Linked DNA regions of Homo sapiens: region 1 is linked to region 2. Evidence: promoter capture Hi-C in 16 types of primary human blood cells and fetal thymus (Javierre and others, 2016). All regions are on one chromosome and are shown on one strand. The core of a region is centred on a gene start or on the middle of the fragment in contact, and the rest is flanking DNA. Distances in the headings are between cores, read along the strand shown. Region 1 overlaps MTF1 (metal regulatory transcription factor 1). Region 2 holds the start of DNALI1 (dynein axonemal light intermediate chain 1).

Evidence for each region. The method cuts DNA at HindIII sites, captures the fragments that hold promoters and counts their contacts. A CHiCAGO score of 5 or more calls a contact.
Region 1: a contact is called between a fragment that was not itself captured here and the fragment with the promoter of DNALI1 in region 2, in 1 of 17 cell types (activated CD4 T cells). The highest score is 5.0, in activated CD4 T cells.

Annotation. Positions count from the first base shown.
Region 1 is chr1:37,845,928-37,848,627 of GRCh38, forward strand. All of the region lies in intron 2 of MTF1 (metal regulatory transcription factor 1), which reads right to left. Among named protein-coding and RNA genes, the nearest start is that of MTF1, 12 kb to the right of the region's middle. The HindIII fragment of the contact is 1,689 bases long and covers 484-2,172 here.
Region 2 is chr1:37,555,535-37,558,242 of GRCh38, forward strand. DNALI1 (dynein axonemal light intermediate chain 1) reads left to right here and starts at 1,406. Exons shown (of 6, transcript NM_003462.5): 1 at 1,406-1,541; 2 at 2,069-2,214. The coding sequence starts at 1,461. It also overlaps the pseudogene RPS27P9. RefSeq lists enhancers at 13-983, 1,194-1,488. The HindIII fragment of the contact is 2,071 bases long and covers 180-2,250 here.

The DNA of each region.
Region 1 (2,700 bases), core at 78-2,577, 290 kb after region 2:
CACTATTCTGTGTCTTTCAGAATCATTTTAAAATAGCACAAAATTTCACAAAAAGGGAAAACTAAACCTCCTCAAACTGGATCAGAGCAGGAAATTGCAAAAACGTGTAGGTTTTCATGGTTACATACAGGAGGTATTGCAACATTTGGAACATTTCAATACAACTAAGGTTTATCATTCATACATCCTAAAAATTATGTTCCAGAAATTATACTGTCCTGGGTGCTAGGAATACATATAAAAATTGTCCCTACTCTCAAAGAGCTCAAAGTCAAAAGGAAAATCAGACAAGAACAACATGGTTTGAGAAGTTTTACTGATAACAGATATTCAGCATACTATGGGAATATACCAAAGAAACATGTAACAGACTTCAGTGACCTTAGAAAGGCTTCTTGAAGGTGGTGATCCCCAACCTGAATTTAAAGACATGAGCAGCTGGGTGATGGAGTGAGACCCCATTTAAAAAAAAAAAAAAAAAAAAGCTTTCCTCCAAAAGAGCTTCAGGCTCTAAGCATAACTTTAATCTTCCTGAGTGGCCTCAAACAGCTGTCGATTACCCTGTTAGGGAACATGGAGGGAGCACAGGTTAGGTGCACTGAGGATAACATCTCATGCTAGTAATGGGCACAAAGTAGGAGCTTTCAGAGAATTGATGCTGATTTACAAAGTGTTCTGAGCAGTTCTAGAATACAGAAATATTTAACAAAGATGACTGCCTTGTTAAGATAACAGAATCAGAGAAGAAAGGTGAATGGGATAAGCAAAAGTGAGAAAATAAAACACTGTGACCCCAGAAGGCAAAAATTTAAAAAAATTAGAAAAAGAAAAAAGTCAACACCTGTGGAAAGAAAGAAAAAAGAAAAAAGGCTGGGTTTTTCCTGGAGGAAAAGAAAGTGAAAGTGAGAAGCAGATTTTACACACATTTACAGCCCCCTATTCCACAAGAGAGTTCCTGCTTCTGGGCACCTAGCACATGAACATTCTCATAAATAAATGACTGGCCTGGCTGTTATGGCTATAGAAACTGCCTTTTCCTCCCCATCACTAGTGACTTCCCTTCCCTCTCTGTGTCCGACTCCATTCCCCACACCGGCACTGGTATCATTTCTTCTCCATAATGGACAACCAAAAAGCTCAGAAATATAAGAACCCTGAAGATCTCATTTCGACAGGCCTCCCATCCCCCACCATGAGAGCTGACTTCATCCAGCTGTTCCCCACACCTCAAACCTTTACCCTTACAGAACAAGTACTGCTGTCCCTTCATTTCTTAGCCCTTTTCACAGCCAACAGGTCTCAATACCTGATTCTTGTATCTTTGCAAAAGTGGTGTGTGATGGTAGAAAGCATAGGCTTTGGCATCCAGAAAGTCCTCAGTTCAAATCTCGGTTCTACCAGTTGCTAGTTGTGTGTTTCTAAGTGTCAGTCTGTCATCTGTAAAATGGGGGCTAATAGTATCTATGTTATAGGATTGCTAAGAAAATTAAATACAAAACTATATTAAAGCCCATAACATAGTGATCGGTACATATCAGGTATTCAACAGCCAGCCATCTTCCTCTCTCCACCACCATTGCCAGCATAATAGAAGTCCTCATTCTTTGAGAGCCCTTAGCTCTGCCTGGTGCCCCAAATGCCCACCATGGAAATAATTTTCAGTGGCCTGATACTAAGTCAAAGGAAGCCAAGTATAAGAGAGAGGAGTGGCAAGAGCTGGTATCCACAGAACGCCTGCAGGGGACTACAGACAGGTTCTCATTTTAAAACACTGTTGTATGGGCCAGTGAGGTGGCTCATGCCTGTAAGTGCTCACCTAGCACTTTGGGAGGCTGAGGTGGGAGGCTCACTTGAGCCCAGAAGTTCGAGACCAGCATGGGCAACATAGCAAGACCGCGACTCTCCAAAAAAATAAGAAATTAGCCAGGTGTGGTGGCTGAGGTGGGAGGATCGCTTGAGCTGGTGAGGTCAAGGCTGCAGTGAGCCGTAATCACTCCACTGCACTCAGCCTGGGTGACAAAGTGAGACCCTGTCTCAAAAAATTAAATGAATAAAACACAGTTATAAATGGCGGTTTATGTTCCATGGCAGTATTAATACAACAGTTCAGCTAATTAGGGGTTACCAAGATTTCTATGGGCTATCCTGGAACCTAATCACAATTTATATGTAAGCTTGTCTCAAGGAGAAAACACCTCCCAAAGAGTGCCTAACAAAGAACATTTTAACCTCTTGTTAAACTGGACATTACCTCTTTACCTCCTTCAAGAACCATGGGGGTCTATGAGGAAAAGAAAGCAAATGAACATCCAGCGAACAATCATGATGCACCAGACACTATGCTAAATGTTTTATACATATTACATATGAATAAATCTCATTTAATCTTCACAAAATGCAATGGGATATTTCTATTTCAATTTTATAAAAAAGGAAACAGAGCAGCTTGCCCAAGGCCACATAGCTAGTACATAACAGAACAAAGCTGGAACCTAGGTTGAAACTATCCCTTTGCACATCACAGAAGAAACAAGTAAGCCTGATTTAAATATGAGGAGAAAAAAATAAAATTCAGGTTCTTTTGCCAATGTCATATAACAGCAAAATGTTGGCAGTACTTAATATGTACAACCTATGTGAAATGTAAATCGAGACCTATAATTCCTATAGCACCAAGTTTGAAACCCAATTGTACACAAA
Region 2 (2,708 bases), core at 156-2,655:
CAGGGCTACAGAGTGAGACCCTGTCTTCAAAAAAACCAAACCAAAACAAAAAAAAAAACACAAAAAACTATTTACAAATTTATCTCTGTTCCCTTATTCATTCATTCTGCCTAGTAATCCCTGAACAGAATTCCTCCTTCTCCCACCCTCACAAACCTGTTTTACCAGGAGGGTATATAAGCTTCTGAACCCTTTTCGGGGTGGGTAATCATACTGTGATTCTCCCCGTGTATACATTTTAAATACATTTGTATGCCTTTTCTCCAATTAATCTGCCTTTTGTGAATTGATTTTTGAGCGAATCTTCAGGGGGCAAAGGGGAGGTTTCCCATTGGCTCCTACTTTGTCATTTCTCCATTTAATTAGAAAAATACTTCAGGCTGGGCGCGGTGGCTCACGCCTGTAATCCCAGCACTTTGGGAGGCCGAGGCAGGCGGACCACGAGGTCAGGAGTTCGAGACCAGCCTGGCCAACGTGGTGAAACCCCGTCTCTACTAAAAATACAAAATTTAGCCGGGCATGGGGGCACGCGCCTGTAGTCCCAGCTACTCAGAAGGCTGAAGCAGGAGAATCGTTTGAACCCGGGAGGCGGAGGTTGCAGTGAGCCGAGATCACGCCACTGCACTTCAGCCTGGGCAACAGAGAGAGACTCCGTCTCAATTTAAAAATCAAAACAAGCCCTTTCTTGCGGTGACGACCTACCCACGAGAACATGCCTCTCGCAAAGGATCTCCTTCATCCCTCCCCAGAAGAGGAGAAGAGGAAACACAAGAAGAAACGCCTGGTGCAGAGCCCCAATTCCTACTTCATGGATGTGAAATGCCCAGGATGCTATAAAATCACCACAGTCTTTAGCCATGCACAAACGGCAGTTTTGTGTGTTGGCTGCTCCACTGTCCTCTGCCAGCCTACAGGAGGAAAAGTAAGGCTTACAGAAGGATGTTCCTTCAGGAGGAAGCAGCACTAAAAGCACTCTGAATCAAGATGAGTGGGAAACAATCTCAATGAACACATTTTGGGAACAACTACAACAACAAAAAAAACCTTCAAAAAACCTAGGAACTCCAGATGACTTCCTTTGGGAATTGTCCCTTAACCCTTCATGAGAAGTCAGGAGATGACTCCTGTTTTTCAGGTGACAAAATTGGAGCATGGCAAAGGTGATCTGCCCACTTCAAATCGCTAGCTAGACGGAGCATAGGGACTCGAACTGCCGTTTTCCTCGCCTCCAAGAGTACAGGGACGAACCGGTGAGCAGAAGGCCTAAGAAGTCAGGCACAAGAGGTTTCTGCCCAGGAGGCACAGAATGAAACTTGCCGGCTGTTGGCCCCGCCCCACTTCGAAGCTCCGCCCAGGCCAAGAAGCGCGGGGGCGGGAGTGAGGGGGCGGTTTCCATGGTGACGGCAAACAAGGCCCACACTGGACAGGGCAGCTGCTGGGTTGCTACTCTCGCCTCCGCCATGATTCCGCCCGCAGACTCTTTGCTCAAGTACGACACCCCAGTGCTGGTGAGCCGGAACACGGAGAAACGGAGCCCCAAGGTAAAGACGGGGGCTCGGGAGACAAAGGAGCCTCGAAACTCCGATAGGGAAAGACACATTCCCGCATGGAGGGTCAGGAATCTCAAGGGACGGGGATTGCAGCGACTGGGAGTAAAGGGAATTGGGAAGTCAGAGAAGGAGGGTGAGAGGATTGTATAGGAAGCCCAGATGTTGGGTGTGACCCCAGAGGGCAGATTTAGGATGGGGAAGGAGGTCACAGGGAGATGGATGGGGCTCACTCTTCTTAATGGTACGCGGGTCCAAGAACAGATGACTAGGTAGTGATTTCCCCATCACCAGAGGTGTGAAAGCACATGCGCCAGAAACACCTGTTCAAGCATTGAGTTGGGGCCAGACTTCATGGCCTCCTTCAGCTCTGTGACATAATTTCTGCTGAGAAGACCGACCCAAAGTAGGCTAGGAAGAGGGGAGGGCTGTGCAGAAGACCTGGAGCAATATACAGGTTGGGGATGTGTGGAGCTGAGCTCCTGAACAATTTCCTGCCCTCACCTGTGCCTTCATCTCAGGCTCGGCTACTGAAAGTCAGCCCCCAGCAGCCTGGACCTTCAGGTTCAGCCCCACAGCCACCCAAGACCAAGCTCCCCTCAACTCCCTGTGTCCCAGATCCTACAAAGCAGGCAGAAGAAATCTTGAATGCCATACTACCCCCAAGGTAAGAAAGTAGGAGCAGTGGCTGGGAGAAGGCCTAAGCTTTTACATCGTGGATTTTGGGAGTGTGGGGGGAGGCACTCTGCCTCTGTTCCTGGCTGGGGTTTCCTCCCAGTATCACAGAGCTCCTAGAACTTACATATGGCTGGATCCTGGCAGGGTGGTGGGAGACCTCTTCTCAATCTACCCTCATTTCCTGCATGCTGTCACCCAATCTCATGGCTTTAGATACCACCTATGTGCTGATGGCTCCCAAATGTGTATTTCCAGCCCTGTCTTCTCCACTAAACTCCAGGACCATATAGTCTTCTGCTTCCTCATTATCTTCATGAAGATATCTAATAGACATCTCAAACTCAATATATTCAAACTAAATCACAATTTCTTCCTTCCCCAATCTGCTCATCCCCCGTATTCTCCTTTTTACTAGGGACTCAAACCACCTTTCATTCCTTTTGATCACTCTCACAGCATGTGTCCTATCCTTCGTCACATTCT